Linked DNA regions of Homo sapiens: all the other regions are linked to region 2. The links are contacts of gene promoters, found by promoter capture Hi-C in blood cells and fetal thymus (Javierre and others, 2016). All regions are on one chromosome and are shown on one strand. The core of a region is centred on a gene start or on the middle of the fragment in contact, and the rest is flanking DNA. Distances in the headings are between cores, read along the strand shown.

Region 1 (3,232 bases), core at 49-2,548, 500 kb before region 2:
AAAATACAAAAATTAGCCAGGAGTGGTGGCATGCACCTGCAATTCCAGCTACTCGGGAGGCTGGGGCAGGAGAATCACTTGAATCCGGGAGGCAGAGGTTGCTGTAAGCCGAGATTGCGCCACTGCACTCCAGCCTGGGCGACAGAGTGAGACTCCATCTCAAAAAAAAAAAACAAAAACAAAAACAAACAACAACAACAAAAAAAACAGAGCCTCCAGGAGAGGGCACCCAGTCAAGAAGGCACATTCACAGCAAGCCAGGCAGACACCAGGGCTGTCCTCACCCCTAACAACCCACGGGAACCCTCTGCCCCTCACTGGGCTTGTTTCTGGGGCCCTCCCCTCTGCTCCCATTTTTAAAATGTTTCTGGCAGGGGATGCAAATGAGATTTTCCCAGGCAAAACACCAGGGAGACAGGCCTACAGAGGGGAAGAAATACTGATGAATGATCTGCAGCAGCAATCAGCTGCACGCCATTTGCTCGCTGTCTTCCATGACTTTGGTGAGTCCCATCCCCTCAATAGGCCTCGGCTGACGTGCCAGGCACACCAGGAGGCTCTGCTAGGGGACTGCTGGGATTGTTCCCATCTGAAAGTGCAGGACTCAATGACATGGGGGTGGGGGAGGTAATAATTTCAAAGACATTCTGGTCCCTTAACACCTCAAAAACCTCAGAAGTCTGCAAAACCTGTACTCAGTAGCTCAGGATGATCAATTTCCCTGTCTAAGTGTGCTGAGAGAATAAAAACAAGTGCAGTCATCTTCACACTGGAGACTAAGGCCTTCAATGTGTAGTGTGGAGTGGGAAAGGTGTCCCTTCCTCCAGATGGTCACACAGCTGGGCGAGAGGAACATGGGCCAAAAGCTCAGCTGCACTCACCCCTCCCAGGTGCCTTTATGTCACACACACCTTAAGAGGTACCCCTGAAAATCTTTCAAAAGAGTAAAGTATCCTTGGCCAGGTGCGGTGGCTCACACCTGTAATCGCAGCACTTTGGGAGGCCGAGGCAGGTGGATCACTTAAGGTCAGGAGTTCAAGACCAGCCTGGCCAACATGGTAAAACTCTGTCTCTACTACTCAAAAAAAAAAAAAAAAAAAAGCCTGGCATGTTGGTGGGCACCTGTAATCCCAGCTACTTGGAAGGCAGAAGCAGGAAAATCGCTTGAGCCCAGGAGGCGGAGGTTACAGCGAGCAGAGATCACACCACTGCAAGCCAGCCTGGGCGACAGAACAAGACTGTCTCAAAAAAAAAAGGAATAAAGTATCCTACTCCTCCCTACCCGCCCTCAGGTTCTGTGACCTTGTATCTCTCCTCAAAGCCCTTGTACATGGAGTTGAACTTACAGCTTTTGGGGCCAGTCCGCTAAGACCTGAGGGGAACTGGATGAACACGCCATAGTCCTTGATGCTCTTCACAAAACCAATGAGCAGCATTCCAGGATGGATTTCTGAGAAGTTCTTGGGATCCTGGCCACCTTCTACTGTGGAGACCAAGGCTGGCTTCCTGCAAAGAAGCTAGTGGTACTTCATCAAGGAATGTTCCAGAAAGGGCAGATGAAATGTCCATCTCTCCCATCTCCTTTCTCCACAGAGAAGGACAGAACTGCAGGCTGATCTCTGCTGCTACAGCGATTCTCTAAGTGTGCAGACCAGCAGCATCAACATCGCCTGAAACTTAGGAGAAATGCAAGTTCTCAAGCACCACCTAGACCTACTGAATTAGAAACTTTGGTGTGGCCCAGCCATCTGCATGGCCCAACTGCACACTACAGCTGAGAATCACGGTTTTATTCCATTCCCGATTCACTAATCTGCAGATTACTAGAGGACACCAAAAAGGGATGGCTCATCCCCCTGGTCTGGCAGCTGGATCAGCCATCACACAATCCTCTACTACTCCCTCTTTACACTGATGAACTCATTTTCCCTCCTCTGCCCATTTTTACTCCCAGGAGAATGAACTTTACATTCTGTGAGAAGCTCCTTCAAAGCACCCATGCAAAGACCAAAGGGAATATTCCTGAGCCTATAGCCCCGCGGGGAGAAGGCATAGGGGAAAAAAAAAAAGAGGAAAGGGGGACAGAAGCCACCTTATTATTGGTTCTAACCCAAGGGGCAGGCACTGAAAGCCCCAAGAAAACTAGATGTGCTCCCAAGCACCCCACTGGGCCTCCTTCTCCAGCCTCCGAGAGTCCCCCTCTCTGCAACCTTTCAGGCTACTCCGCCCTGACCACCAGCATCTGCTGGCAGCACTTACTCAGGCCTGCTCTTACTTTCCATAGCACAGGCTTCATCACTGGTTTGGTTTTGTGGAGATATTTCTGAGGTCAAATAGCTGTCTAATTTCCCCAGAATTTCCCATCCAAGCACCCATGGCCCCCCACCTTCCTCTGCTCCACAGATACCAGTCAAGGATACAACACGCCCCTCGCTCTGGCTCAGACACAGGACTCGGTGAAGGATGTCACCTGCCTGGAGCCAATGATGTAACAATGGGCCGTTGGCAACGTGGTCCGACAGATGAGATGTGGGGAGGAAAGCACGGATGTTGTGGGGCAGGACAGCCACCTCCAGCCCATCTTTGGTCTTCTCTAAAACCTTCACATCTACCAACTACCCAGGGAAGAGAAAGACAAAAATAGCACTTGTCATGAACAGAGAACAACCTGGTCTGGATTAGGCAGGGCTTGGAGGCATTAAACTCCGGCACCAAGGATCTCTAAGAGGCAGCTTTCTTCCAAACCCCACCCACCACCCCAACCACCCAGCATGCATGTACGTGCACATTCACCAGGACTCATGGGTGGACCCATCGCACTCCTCTCTCAAGTCCCTCCACGGAGCCCCAGGAAAGCCAGAACTGCAGGCTGGCCCTAGGGACCCGAGAGGAAAGAGGTCAGCAGCCCACTGCTGAAAAGCCTCACTGTAACAGGACTTTCAGGGACAGCTTCCATTTGTTCTGACACACAGGAAGGAATGCGTATGAACCCCTCTAGCCCCAAAATCTTATCTAGCTACCTCTATCTTTCCGCTTCGTGGGTTCCAATATGCCATGTGTTAGTGGTTCCCTGCTCTCTGCCACTGTAACATAAAATAGCTTGTCCAGAGAAGTCCACGTACCTGCCCAATGTTAATGGCTTTTCCTTTCTTCTGACTGTGTCCTGCAGGCTCTTTCTTTGGCTCTGGATCACTCGACAGCTTGAAGGATAAGAGCATCCTCTCTTTGGATG
Region 2 (3,385 bases), core at 654-3,153:
CGCCTTGGGGGGTTGGTCTGAGGGTAGAGGACTCAAGTAGGGAGGAGGATGGAGAGAGAAAGAGCAAGCCAATGAAAGAGACCAAAATTTCCCACCTTTCTTAAATTCTTCCAGCATAGCGTCCAACTTGGTGTCATTGAAAACAAAGTGCAAGGGGTGGTTATAAAATTTGGTGATGGTTTTCAGGGGGGTACAGTCATCGGGATCCACGAAGGCCAAGTCTTTGACAAACAGCAGGTCCACGATATTGGAGCGCTCCCCTTCAAACACTGGAATGCGGGTGTAGCCGCTCTCCATGATCTCAGACATGGTGTTGAAGTCCAGGATGGCTTCGCCGGTGATCATGAAGCAGTCCCGGAGTGGGGTCATCACGTCCTCCACCGTCTTGGTGCGGAGCTCCAGCGCCCCTTGGATGATGTTCAGCTCCTCCTTAACGAGGTCGTTGTAGGGATCGGTGACCCGGAGCATCTCCAGCAGTTTTTCCCGGTTATAGACGGTGCCTATCTCCTGGCCCAGGACGCAGTCCAGCAGCTTGCTGACCGGGTAGGAAGCGGGGAAGGTCATCATCATGAAAAACTTGGTGAGGAAGATGGTGTTGGCCCCCACAGCCAGGCCATGCCGGGAGCAGATGGCCTGGGGCACGATCTCTCCGAAGATGACGATACCGATGGTGGAGACTACCACGGCCACGAGGCCCGAGCCGGCGATGTCGTCGAGCAGGATGGTGAGCGTGGTGTTGACCAGCACGTTGCCCAGCAGCAGTGAGCACAGCAGGTAGTTGCCCTGCCTGCGCACCGGCTCGATGCGCTTGGCGTAATTCTTCTCCTTCTCCGTGCCGCAGTTCTGCACGATGCGCAGCTCCATCGGGTCCAGGGCCATGAGCCCCAGGTTGAGGCCGCTGAACATGCCCGACAGGCACAGCAGCAGCGAAATGAAGATCACCTGCAGCCAGAAGGGCAGCAGGAACTTCTTCTCTTCGCCTACGATCATCTTGGTGTCCTCGCCGTCGTGGTAAATCCAGGTGGTCTCGGCCCACGGGGGCGGCGGGAGCCCGGCCACCCCCGAGCCACCCTTGCCCCCGACGGCGCCACCCGTGGACCCCGAGCCGCCGGCGCCCAGGGCGGGCGTGGAGAGCGACGTGCACAGGTAATAGGACTTGCTCTTCTCCATCTTGCGTAGCGGTTTGATCTCGATCTCGATGATGCCCGAGGTGCGGCGGTTGAGAATGATGTGGGGCAAGATGATGATGTCTGAGGTGCGGATGCCGCATCGCTGGGGGCCGCTGTCCGGCTCTGGCGGCGCGGGGCCCCCCAGCCCGCGCTCCCCCGGGCTGTGGCGCCGCCGCTCGTGCTCGGTGAAGGCGATGCGGGACCACGTCTCGTTATTGATGTTCTGCCCGTACACCCGCAGCTTGACCCGGGTCCGTTCGCTCACCCGCAGCGCCCCCCCTTCCATGAACGACACGTCGTTCGTGTCCTCCAGTCGCAGCCCGATGATCACCGTCTCCTCATTCTCGCCCACCGCTGCGCAGCCGCCCGCACCGCAGCAGCAGCTCAGCAGGAGCAGCGGCAGCAGCCGCCCCGCAGCCGCCTGCAGGATCCCCCGGCCGCGAGCGCTGAGGCTGCGGCGCGCCGCCATCTTCCAAGTGGGCAGTGCGGCGGCTGCCTGCCCGCCCGCCATCTTTACTTTGGGTTCACAAGCGCCACAGCCAATCATAGGGTGGCTGCTCCAGCTGCGGCTTCATCCTTTCAACCCGGCGGCGCGAGCGCAGGTACCGGCCCCTGGGCGAGACTGCAACGGAGCGTCCGCGGCCAGTGCTCAGCAGTTCGCCTCCCTGACTGACACTGACTCCACCTCAGCCAGCTGAGGAACCCCGAGGCTCGCGGGAGGGAAAGAGGGAGGGAGAGGAGCGCCGGCTGCTCCCGCGAGAGGCAGGCCGACCAGCCAATCACAAGCGGGTGCCCGCCCTCCCAGCCAGGGGGCTGGAATGGGGGCGTGACCGTGTGCCGCTCCGCGGACCAATGGCAAGGTAAGTGGGTGGGGCGACGAGAGCCACCGTCCCCGTCTGCACGCCAAGTTTCCAACTGAAAGGCGCGTGACTCTTGTGTATGTGCGAGGGGAGGGGGCGTGGCCATCTGGGACTCGAGAGCCAGTCAAAGATGAGAGCTGAAGAAAAAGGGGCGTGGCATCCGTCCTGCTGCCAATGGGAAGGAGCCGTCCCTGGGGCCCGCGCTCCCCAGGGGCCCCTGTAGTAGATCCCGGAGCCTGGACCGGCCAGGTTTGGACTAAAGCCCTGCGGCGCAAGGCGGCAGGTTCCCGGTGCACCGGTTACTGGCTCTCCAGTTCTCAATTCGTAGGCACAAAGCCGCGCGCCCTCCTGCCCCGGAAGCCCGAGAAGCCAACTAGAGGCGGCTTGGGATGCACACAGCCTAAAAAGCCGGGGCACCGGCCGCTGTCCCCAACTCCACCTGCGCGGCGCTCCGCCGGGGTAAGCGGCGTCGGTGGCCCCGGCACAGCTGCGGACCAGCAGTCCTCGCGCCTCGAGACTCCTAGGGTACGGGCTCTCTGCGGCTCGCGATCACGTGGCGCCACCTGCGGGCAGCATGAGCGCCCTGCAACGCTTTCCAGGTCGGCGGCGTACCCCAAAAGGTGTGCAGAAGTTACGGATGGAGCGGTCAGGGGGACAGTTCCCCAAATTTCCTAGTCATAGAACCCCTACATATTATTGCTAGGAGTATATACTTCCTAGACCTTTTCCCATATTTACAGAGTGGGAAGGGCCCCGAATCTGTATTCCCAGCAGGAATTCAGGCAAGTTAAGGAAATGGGAGGGGGCAAGCATCCTAAACAGACCCACAGAGGCTCATTCTTAATCACACTGACCAAACTCTGCTAGGGTCTTAGGTCACTCAAGAGCAAAAAGTTCTGGAAACCTAGCTCCCCAGTACTCCCAACGTCACCTGGAGGTGACGAGGTAGCAGAGTAGCTGCCAAATTGGTCTTTTCCTTGAAACTTAAAACATTCAGGCCGGGCGTTGGTGGCTCACGCTTGTAATCCCAGTACTTTGGGAGGCCGAGGCGGGCGGAGCATGAGGTCAGGAGATCGTAGACCACGGTGAAACCCCGTCTCTACTAAAAATACAAAAAATTAACCGGGCATGGTGGCGGGCGCCTGTAGTCCCAGCTACTCGGAGAGGCTGAGGCAGGAGAATGGCGTGAACCCGGGAGGCGGAGCTTGCAGTGAGCCGAGATCGCGCCACTGCACTCCAGCCTGGGTGACACAGGGAGACTCCGTATCAAAAAAAAAAAAAGAAAAAAAAGAAACTTAAAACATTCAAAATGTTTAATGTTTCTCTACCTCTTTTGTATTCTACAAGCACATCCCG
Region 3 (3,139 bases), core at 69-2,568, 400 kb before region 2:
TGCAATGGTGCGATGATGTCGGCTCACCGCAACCTCCGCCTCCTGGGTTCAAGCGATTATCCTGCCTCAGCCTCCTGAGTAGCTGGGATTACAGGCATGCGCCACCATGCCTGGCTAATTTTCTAGTTTTTTTAGTAGACAGAGTTTCTCCATGTTGGCCAGGCTGGTCTTGAACTCCCAGCCTCAGGCAATCTGCCCACCTCGGCCTCCCAAAGTGCTGGGATTACAAGTGTGAGCCACCGCGCCCGGCCATCATGTGTTCTTAAGAAAGATTTAAGTTCATTTAAAATTTAGAGATCAATAATTATCCAAATATGTTTCTTTCTCATAGAGACTCCAGTGTCTCAGGGTTACTGTGGTTGATTTAGTGGTATTTACTCTTTGATGTCTTATTGTATTTTGCTTTGTTTGATATTCAGACCTTATTTTGCTTTTATGAGATGAAATTTAGAACATACACCTCACATTGATCACTAAAAATTCTTCTATAAGATGTGATATTTGATTTTGTTAATCCTGCCATAACTAATTCCATCTTAAAAGTTAGGCTGGCCAGGCATGGTGGCTCATACCTGTAATCTCAGCATTTTGGGAGGCTGAGGCGGGCGGATCACGAGGTCAAGAGATGGAGACCATCCTGGCCCACATGGTGAAACCCCATCTCTACTAAAAATACAAAAATTAGCTGGGCATGGTGGTATGCACCTGTATAGTCCCAGCTACTCGGGAAGATGAGGCAGGAGAATCACATGAATCCAGGAGGTGGAGGTTGCGGTGAGCCGAGATCGCACCACTGCACTACAGCCTGGCGACAGAGCAAGACTCCATCTCAAAAAAGTTAGGTTATTATTATTACTTATTTGGTGTATGATATTAAGCCTTCTATTAAATTTAGTTTCCAAATAATTTTTTAAGGACTAATATATGATGTTTCCATACCATTTATTATATATTGTTACTAAATTGAGGGTCTATGTATTTGACCTTAGGAGTACAAAGATGAGACAAAATTCATGCCATCAGGGGACTCAGAATTTTGTAGGAAAGATATATAAGTAAACAACTAACTAACAATAGGATGTAATGAATGCAACAGTGGAGATAACACAAAAGTGAATGATTTAACTCAGGAATGGGTTTGAAGAACAAATAGGAATTTGCCAGACACAGAAAAAAAGAACTTAGTAGCAAAGAAGAGTATGTATGGCCAGGTCCGGTGGCTCACGCTTGTAATCCCAGCACTTTGGGAGGCCGAGGCGGGCACATCACAAGGTCAAGAGATCGAGACCATCCTGGCCAACATGGTGAAACCCCGTCTCTACTAAAAATACAAAAAAAAAATTAGCTGGGCATGGTGGTACGCCTGTAGTCTCAGCTACTCAGGAGGCTGAGGCAGGAGAATCGCTTGAACCCAGGAGGCGGAGGTGGCAGTGAGCCGAGATCCCACCACTGCATTCCAGCCTGGGCGGCAGAGTGAGACTCCATCTCGAAAAGAAGAGTATGTATGATCAAAGGAATGAGCCAGTGTGGCTTATCAAAGCACACTGATTGAAAAATCTTAACTTGGAAGCTCTAGCATGATCTTGCTTTTAAAAAGATGAGGACTTTTTCTCCTTTTAATAAGACTACTTTCATGGTCTGATTTCTGCTCTGAGATTCAAAAATATTTTTGTTATCTCTTCTTGATACTCCAGAGGGTAAGATATTATGCACAAAAGAGTTAACGTATCAGCCTTGAGGCTGCTGTCGTTAGAAGGGCCTGCTTACAAAGCTGGCCTTTGGCTATCGAGGAACTAGGCCTGCAAAAAGTTTCCTACACTAATGTGAAAAGTTTTCTAACTGCAATTTGGTAGTTGTTAGACAGCGAGTGCCAACAAAACCAACTTTTTTTTTCTTTTTTCTTTTTTTTTTTCAGACAGAGTCTCGCTCTGTCGCCCAGGCTGGAGTGCAGTGGTGCCATCTCAGCTCACTGCAGCCTCTGCCTCCCAGGTTCAAGCCATTCTCTGCCTCAGCCTCCTGAGTAGCTGGGATTACAGGCGACCGCCACCATGCCCGGCTAATTTTTTTGTATTTTTGGTAGAGACAGGGTTTTACCATCTTGGCCAGGCTGGTCTTGAACTGCTGACCTTGTGATCCGCCTGCCTCAGCCTCCCAAAGTGCTAGGATTACAGGTGTGCGCCACCGCACCCGCACTTTTTTCTTTTTTTTTTTTTGAGATGGAGTCTCCCTCTGTTACCCAGGCTAGAGTGCAGTGGCGCGATCTCGGTTCACTACAACTTCTGACTCCCAGGTTTGAGTGATCCTCCTGCCTCAGCCTCCTGAGTAGCTGGGATTACAGGTGTCTGCCACCACACCCAGCTTATTTTTGTATTTTTTGTAGAGACAGGGTTTTGCCATGTTGGCCAAGCTGGTCTCGAACTCCTGACCTCAGGTGATCTGCCCGTCTCGGCCTCCCAAAGTGCTGGGATTACAGGCGTGAGCCACCGCACCCAGTTGATCCCATTTTTTTTAAAGCAAAAAATGAATAACAGAAAAACCCACATGCACACATAGTGTTCTAGGACCATACACATCAAACTCTTAGAAACTGACCAACCCCAGCTGGGTGCGGTGGCTCATGCCTGTAATCCCAGCACTTTGGGAGGCTGAAGTGGGCGGATTGCCTGAGTTCGGGAGTTCGAGACCAGTCTGACCAAGATGAGAAACCCCGTGTCTACTAAAAATACAAAATTAGCCATGCGTGGTGATGCATGCCTGTAATCCCAGCTACTTGGGAGGCTGAGGCAGGAGAATTGCTTGAACCCAGGAGAGGCAGAGTTTGCAGTGAGCCAAGGTTGCGTCATTGCCCTCCAGCCTGGACAACAAGAGCGAAACTCTGTCTCAAAAAAAAAACAGAAAAAAGAAACTGACCACCCTCTAGGGGCTAGGATTGAAGTGAGGATTTATCATTCTACTTTCTACAATTTTTTTTAAGTTTGTTACTATATACCTGTCTTTTTATTTATTTATTTATTTTGAGATGAGGTTTCGTTTTGTTGCCCAGGCTTGGGGTGGAGCGGTACGATCATATCTCACTACCTCAAACTCAAGCAGTCCTCCTGCCTCAGCTTCCCAAGCAGCTAAGATTATAGATGAGAGC
Region 4 (3,592 bases), core at 8-2,507, 340 kb before region 2:
GCCTCCTGGGTTCACACTATTCTCCTGCCTCAGCCTCCAGAGTAGCTGGGACTACAGGCACCCACCACCACGCCCGGCTAATTTTTTGTATTTTTAGTAGAGATGGGGTTTCACTGTGTTAGCCAGGGTGGTCTTGATCTCCTGACCTCATGATCCACCTGCCTCAGCCTCCCAAAGTGCTGGGATTACAGGTGTGATCTACCACGCCCGGCCCCCAGTCATATCTTAAAGCTCCAAAATGATCTCCTTTGACTCTGTGACTCACTTCCAGGACATGCTGATGCGAGAGGTAGGCTCCCATGGCTTTGGGAAGCTCTGCCTCTGTGGTTTTGCAGGGTATATCCGCCCTCTTGGCTGCTTTCACAGGCTGATGTTGAATGTCCGATTTTTCCAGGTGCAAAGTGCAAGCTGTCGGTTGATCTATTCTGGAGTCTGGAGGATGGTGGCCCTCTTCTCACAGCTCCACTAGGTGGTGCTCCAGCAGGGACTCTACATGGGGGCTTGGACCCCACATTTCCCTTCTGCACTGTCCTAGAAGAGGTTCTCCATGAGGGCCCCGCCCCTGCAGCAAACTTCTGCCTGGGCATTCAGACATTTCCATACATTTTCTGAAATCTAGGCAGAGGTTCCCAAACCTCAATTCTTGACTTCTGTTCACCTGCAGGCTCAACACCACGTAGAAGCTGCCAGGGCTTGGGGCTTCCACCCTCTAAAGCAACAACCTGAGCTGCAACTTGGCCCCTTTTAGTCACAGCTGCAGCAGCTGGGTTGCAGGGCACAAAGTCCCTAGACTGCACACATCAGAGGGACCCTGGGCCTGGCCCACTAAACTATTTTTTTTCTCCTAAACCTCCAGGCCTGTGATTGGGGGTGGGGGGTCTGCTGTGAGGACCTCTGACCTGCCCTGGAGACATTTTTCCCACTGTCAGAGATTAATATTAGGCTCCTTATTACTTAAGCAAATTTCTGCAGCTGGCTTGAATTGCTCCTCAGAAAATGGGTTTTTCTTCTTTATTGCTTGTCAGACTACAAATTTTGCAAACTTTTATGCTCTGTTTCCCTTTTAAAACTGAATGCTTTTAACAACACCCAAGTCACCTCTTGAATGCTTTGCTGCTTAGAAATTTCTTCTGCCAGAAACCCTAAATCACCTTTCTCAAGTTCAAAGTTCCACAAATCTCCAGGGCAGGGGCAAAATGCCACCAGTCTCTTTGCTAAAACATAACAAGAGTCACCTTTGCTCTAGTTCCCAATAACTTCCTCATCTCCATCTGAGACCATCTCAGCCTGGATTTCATTGTCCATATCATTATCAGCATATTGGTCAAAGCCATTCAACAAGTCTCTAGGGAGTTCCAAACTTTCCCACATTTTCCTGTCTTCTTCTGAGCCCTCCAAATTATTCCAACCTCTGCCTGTTACCCAGTTCCAAAGTTGCTTCCACATTTTCGGGTATCTTTTCAGTAGCACCCCACTCTCGGTACCAATTTACTGTATTAGTCCATTTTCACACTGCTGATAAAGACATACCCGAGACTGGACAATTTACTAAAGAAAGAGGTTTATTGGACTTACAGTTTCACATGGGTGGGGAGGCCTCACAATCATGGCGGAAGGTAAAAGGCATGTCTCACATGGCAGCAGACAAGAGTGGAGAGCTTGTTCAGGGAAACTCCCATTTTTTAAAACCATCAGATCTTGTGAGACTTACTCATTATCATCAGAACAGCACAAGAAAGACCCACCCCCATGATTCAATCACCTCCCACCATGTTCCTCCCATAACATGTGGGAATTCAAGATGAGATTTGGGTGGGGGCAGAGCCAAGCCATATCAAATATCTACTGGCAACATGTAGAATGTGTATTAAAATGCAGAATATGGGCCAGGCATGGTGGCTCATGCCTGTAATCCCAGCACTTTGGGAGGCCGAGGCAGGCAGATCACCTGAGGTCGGGAGTTTGAGACCAGCCTGGCCAACATGGTGAAACCCTGTCTCTACTAAAAAAAAAAAACAGAATTAGCCAGGCGTGGTGGCACATGCCTGTAATCCCGGCTACTTGGGAGGCTGAGGCAGGAGAATCACTTGAACCCAGGAGGCAGAGGTTGCAGTGAGCCGAGATCACGCCATTGCACTCCAGCCTGGGCAACAAGACCGAAACTCCGTCTCAAAAAAAAAAAAAAAATGCAGAATATGTGTGTGTTAAAATCTGCATCCAAGGTTGACATCTAAAGACTATTTGGAAAGCCTTGTGCAGTAAGGGAGGGGAGGGGGTTACAAAGATGTAATATGTAAAGCACAGCCCCTGCCCTTCATTGGGTGGTGGGAGGAAATGTGTGAAAGAAGCAGTCTGCTTAGAACAGCAAGGGAGTCCTTAACGTGGCTTTCTGGGGACAACAGAAAAAGGAATTTGGCTATGTGGGCTGGTCCTGGTGCAATCCTTCTTTATAAGAAGTGTTATGACTTAGACCCCACTGGTTTCACTTGTAGTGCTATAGGGGGCCCCTGGTGGGCCCAAAACACAGACAGAGGAGAAAAAAGGTAGGACCAGAAAAAAAGAAGGAAAGTGGGAAGGAAAGAAAGTGAAGAAGAAAGTGAGAGTAAAGGATGTGCATTACCAAAGAATCTAGCATTTACATCCTACTTCCTAATATAAACAACATTTTCACAAGAATCCTGTGAGGTGACCATTGATATTTTTATTCTGTGGATAAAAGTAAAAAAGGGAGAGAGGTCAAGGGACTTGCCCAAGGTCATAAATTTAGGTTTCTAACTCAAGACCTTGTACTGTGTTCTCCATTGCACCAGTTGTCTCTACACCAAGAGAAAGTGCCTCAACTCCTGAACTATGGGTTTCTTTTCCCAGTTTATAAGGCTATTTAAAATCTTCTTTAAAACTATATGCCAGGCGCGGTGGCTCACTCCTGTAATCCCAGCACTTTGGGAGGCCGAAGCCAGAGGATGACCTGAGGTCAGGAGTTTGAGACCAATCTGGCCAATATGGTGAAACCCCGTCTCTACTAAAAATACAAAAGTTAGCCAGGCGTGATGGTGGCCACCTGTAATCCCAGCTACTCAGGAGGCTGAGCCAGGAGAATTGCTTGAACCCGGGAGGCAGAGGTTGCAGTGAGCTGAGATGGCGTCACTGCACTCCAGCCTGGGTGACAGAGTGAGACTCTGTCCTTAAAAAACAAACAAAAAAAATAGCTGGGCATTGTGGCAGACACCTGTAATCCCAGCTACTCAGGAGGCTGAGGCAGGAGAATCGCTTCAACCCAGGAAGTGGAGGCTGAGGTGAGCAGAGGTCATGCCACTGCACTCTAGCCTGGGTGACAGAGTGAGACTTTGTCTCCAAAAAAAAAAAAAAAAAAAAAAAAAAAAATGGGAATGAAGGAAACAGAAAATTAGAACACCACAGTAATAATTGCTGCAGATAAAGTCCACTGATGAAGCTAATATTAGTGGGCAAAACTCTAAGGAGGACCAGGATATTTACATAGCATCTAAGTATAAACCTCCAAATATGCATTAATTATCTTGTTTTTAACATATGTCCCCAAATGTTTTGATACCCCTCCCTCCACAATGGA
Region 5 (3,392 bases), core at 664-3,163, 320 kb before region 2:
AGAGACTTGAGAAGCTGGTTCCTGTGAAAGATGACTCAGCACAGGCCTTTAGAATGCCAGGCAGTGTCCCCTGCCTGGATGCTGCACAGCCCCGCGAGTGCCATGTGGGCCACTTTGGCTGTTACAAAGTCCAGGCTATTTGTCTGCTCAGCAGGGTACTTGTCTCCTAGGAGCTGGGGCATGTCCTGCAGCCCCTAGCTCATGAGTGGGTATTAGCATCAGGGTCCTTGTTGTGGTTTGATCTCTGAATCCTTTCCGTTACAGAGATCCTTCATGCCTTCCCTACATACAGTGACCCTCTTTTTCTCCAGGCCGTCATTGATACTGCCTCTAGACTGGGCTTTCCAATGCATTTCATCAGGGCTTTCCCAAAGGATGCCTCACTGCCTATAAACTCAGCTCCCATTTCCTTAGCACAATGTGGTCCTGACCAAAATTTCTGCTTCGGGCCAGGCGCAGTGGCTCACGCCTGTAATCCCAGCACTTTGGGAGGCCAAGGAGGGTGTATCACCTGAGGCCAGGAGTTCAAGACCAGCCTGGCGAACATGGTGAAACCCCATCTCTACTAAAAATACAAAAATTAGCCAGGCGTGGTGGTGCACGCCCGTAGTCCCAACTACTTGGGAGGCTGAGGCAGGAGAATCGCTGGAATCCGGGAGGTGGAGGTTGCAGTGAGCTGAGATTACGCTACTGCACTCTAGCCTGGGCGACAGAGCAAGACTCTGTCTCAAAAAATAAAAATAAAAATAATTTTCTTCTTCATCCCAATCCCCTCTCCTTCCTCCTGCCATGTGCCCCGTACTCTAGCCCAGTGTTTCTCAGTGTAGTCTGTGGACCATCTTCTTCAGAATCATTCAGGACATGATTCCTGGGCACGAGACCTACTGAATGGAAAATGCAAATTCCTGTGCTCCAGAACTACTGAGCCAGCTGTTGCTGATACCTCGGAACCTGCATTTTAATGATACCGGGGCTGATTTTTGTGTAGAATACAGTTTAAGAACTACTGCTCTGCCAAACCAGATTGTTGAGTTTCCTGACTGTATCTGGGTAGTCACACCTTTCTCACTTCCTGCATTTTGCAGCCTGGTGCACTCTGCTTCTCCTTTAAGCTTCGTCTCACACATCAGCTCTTCTGTGCTGCTTTCCCCGAATCCAGGTTGCTTTCTCTGTGTCCACGTGATCCATTGCACTTTCTACCCACCTCTGCTATAGTATCTTCTTATGTCGTCAGAGCTAATTATTGGCTCCTTCACTTGTTTGTGAACTCCCTAAGGACCATGGATGTTTCATTTTGAATCCCCAGAGCCTAGCAAAATACCTGGCAGGGAGAGGGCATTTAATGCATGTTGCTGAATGAATGAATGAATGAATGAATGAATGAAGAATGAATGGAGACCAGGTCATAGTCTAAATCAGAAAAGTAGATTAAGGCCAGGCATGGTGGCTCACGCCTGTAATCCCAGCACTTTGGGAGACCAAGGCGGGAGAATGGTTTGAGCCTAGGAGTTTGAGACCAACCTGGGCAACATAGTGAGACCTCATCCCTACAGAAAATAAAAAAAGGCCGGGCACAGTGGCTCACACCTGTAATCCCAGCACTTTGGGAGACTGAGGCAGGCGGATCAAGAGGTGAAGAGATCGAGACCATCCTGGCCAACATGGTGAAATCCCATCTCTACTAAAAATACAAAAATTAGCTGGGCATGGTGGGGCGTGCCTGTAATCCCAGCTACTCAGGAGGCCGAGGCAGGAGAATCGCTTGAACCCAGGTGGTGGAGGTTGCAGTAAGCCGGGATCGTGCCACTGTGCTCCAGCCTGGCAACAGAGCGAGACTTTGTCCCCCCCCCAAAAAAAAAAAAATTAGATGGGCATGGTGGCACCTGCCTGTAGTCCCAGCTACTCAGGAGGCTGAGGTGGGAGGATCGCTGAAACCCAGGAAGTCAAGGTTGCAGTGAGCTGTGATTGTGCCACTGCACTCCACCCTGGGCAACAGAGCAAGACCCTGTCTCAACAAAAAAAAAAAAAAAAAAAAAAGGAAATGTAGATTAAACCCATTATGTAGTGGACAGAGCCACATTTATCAGGCAGACTCCTGCTTCACAGTTTCAGTCTAACTTTTTCTAAATGTTTGATCTTTTCTTGAGGAAGCTATGGGTTTACACTGTGGCAAAAGTAGTTAGGTAAGTTATGAGCTAGGACTAAGAAATATTTTTTAAAATCCCAATGTGTTTGTGTGGGAGGCCAAGAAACAGCTTTCTCTTGATCTGTCTCTGAGGATAGATCCTACCAGACTTTTTCTCCACCCTAGACCTGTTCCCGAGGATTATCCATTTCAGAATTCTTGACCTTCTAACTCTAGTGACGTAACTGCCTCAGTCAGGCACGCCCTGGACCTTGTCATGATTGTCCAGCTCAGAAATGCCAACAAACTGGTCTCTGGCCGGAACTTCCTTGCCATCGGTTTACTCCCTTCCCCTACTCCCAGCTCCCTGTATCTCTTTCCCAAACCCCAGCCCATGAGTGCCTCCTTTCTTCATTCTTGTCCACAGGGTGGTGCTCCTCTTGCTGTCTGAGGCCAGTCCCTCAGTGTGTGCTGGATTCCATCCTTCCCAATTCCTCGGCGCTCGGCTCCATCCTCAGCAGCACACTTCCCTCCATCCTCACTCTCTCCTTTCTGGCTTTTCCTTCCATACATAAACAGTCAAGCTTCTCTCACCTCAGAAAGGTACCTCTCTCTAGCTATAAGCCAGTCTTGGAAGTTCACTTCACAGCAGAGCTTATCAAAAGAGCAGGCCCTGTTTGCTACCCACTCACCCTTAACTCCATTTCTGGCCCCACCTCTCCAGTTGTTCTTCCCAAGGCCACAGCAACCTCCTAATTGCACAATCTAGCAAGTAGCTTTTTGTTTGTTTCTTTGTTTGTTTGTTTTTGAGATGGAATTTCACTCTTGTTGCCCAGGCTGGAGTGCAATGGCACGATCTCGGTTCACTGCAGCCTCAGCCTCCCGGGTTCAAGCAATTCTCCTGCCTCAGCCTCTCAAGTAGCTGGGACTACAGGCGCCCGCCACCATGCCCAGATAATTTTGTGTATATTTTTTAGTAGAGACAGGGTTTCACCATGTTGGCCAGGCTGGTCTTGAACTTCTAGCCTCAGGTGATCCGCCTGCCTGGGCCTCCCAAAGTGCTGGGATTACAGGCGTGAGCCACCGCACCCGGCTGCAGGTAGTTTTCAATTGCTATTTTGCTTGCACTTTGTGTGGCATTTGACACTATGAACTACTCCTGTCTTCTGGAACCTCTGTTGTTCTTTTGTTCTTCCTTCGTTTGCAAAGCACTCTCTTTGTTCCTTTTTTTTTTTTTTGAGACGGAGTCTCACTCTGTCACCCAGGC

The links. The method cuts DNA at HindIII sites, captures the fragments that hold promoters and counts their contacts. A CHiCAGO score of 5 or more calls a contact.
Region 1: a contact is called between a fragment that was not itself captured here and the fragment with the promoter of CNNM2 in region 2, in 1 of 17 cell types (neutrophils). The highest score is 5.7, in neutrophils.
Region 3: a fragment that was not itself captured here is called in contact with the fragment with the promoter of CNNM2 in region 2 in 6 of 17 cell types (endothelial precursors, M0 macrophages, erythroblasts and 3 more); the score reaches 10.8 in endothelial precursors.
Region 4: a contact is called between a fragment that was not itself captured here and the fragment with the promoter of CNNM2 in region 2, in 7 of 17 cell types (megakaryocytes, endothelial precursors, erythroblasts and 4 more). The highest score is 11.1, in megakaryocytes.
Region 5: a contact is called between a fragment that was not itself captured here and the fragment with the promoter of CNNM2 in region 2, in 17 of 17 cell types (naive B cells, erythroblasts, endothelial precursors and 14 more). The highest score is 24.7, in naive B cells.

What each region holds. Positions count from the first base shown.
Region 1 is chr10:103,417,823-103,421,054 of GRCh38, reverse strand. PDCD11 (programmed cell death 11) reads right to left here. Exons shown (of 36, transcript NM_014976.2): 14 at 3,123-3,232; 15 at 2,421-2,615; 16 at 1,347-1,517. Among named protein-coding and RNA genes, the nearest start is that of PDCD11, 23 kb to the right of the region's middle. The HindIII fragment of the contact is 7,810 bases long and covers 1-3,232 here.
Region 2 is chr10:102,916,812-102,920,196 of GRCh38, reverse strand. It overlaps CNNM2 (cyclin and CBS domain divalent metal cation transport mediator 2), which reads right to left and starts at 1,903. Exons shown (of 8, transcript NM_017649.5): 1 at 96-1,903. The coding sequence starts at 1,716. LOC107984265 (a long non-coding RNA gene) reads left to right here and starts at 1,862. Exons shown (of 3, transcript NR_160733.1): 1 at 1,862-2,029. RefSeq lists silencers at 1,228-1,317, 1,928-2,107 and enhancers at 1,577-2,263, 2,264-2,950. The HindIII fragment of the contact is 7,117 bases long and covers 1-3,385 here.
Region 3 is chr10:103,317,517-103,320,655 of GRCh38, reverse strand. The region is part of intron 8 of PCGF6 (polycomb group ring finger 6); the gene reads left to right. Among named protein-coding and RNA genes, the nearest start is that of PCGF6, 32 kb to the left of the region's middle. The HindIII fragment of the contact is 3,787 bases long and covers 1-3,139 here.
Region 4 is chr10:103,257,013-103,260,604 of GRCh38, reverse strand. No RefSeq gene overlaps it. Among named protein-coding and RNA genes, the nearest start is that of RPEL1, 13 kb to the right of the region's middle. The HindIII fragment of the contact is 4,680 bases long and covers 1-3,592 here.
Region 5 is chr10:103,238,160-103,241,551 of GRCh38, reverse strand. No RefSeq gene overlaps it. Among named protein-coding and RNA genes, the nearest start is that of RPEL1, 6.0 kb to the left of the region's middle. RefSeq lists an enhancer at 1,160-1,259. The HindIII fragment of the contact is 1,597 bases long and covers 1,115-2,711 here.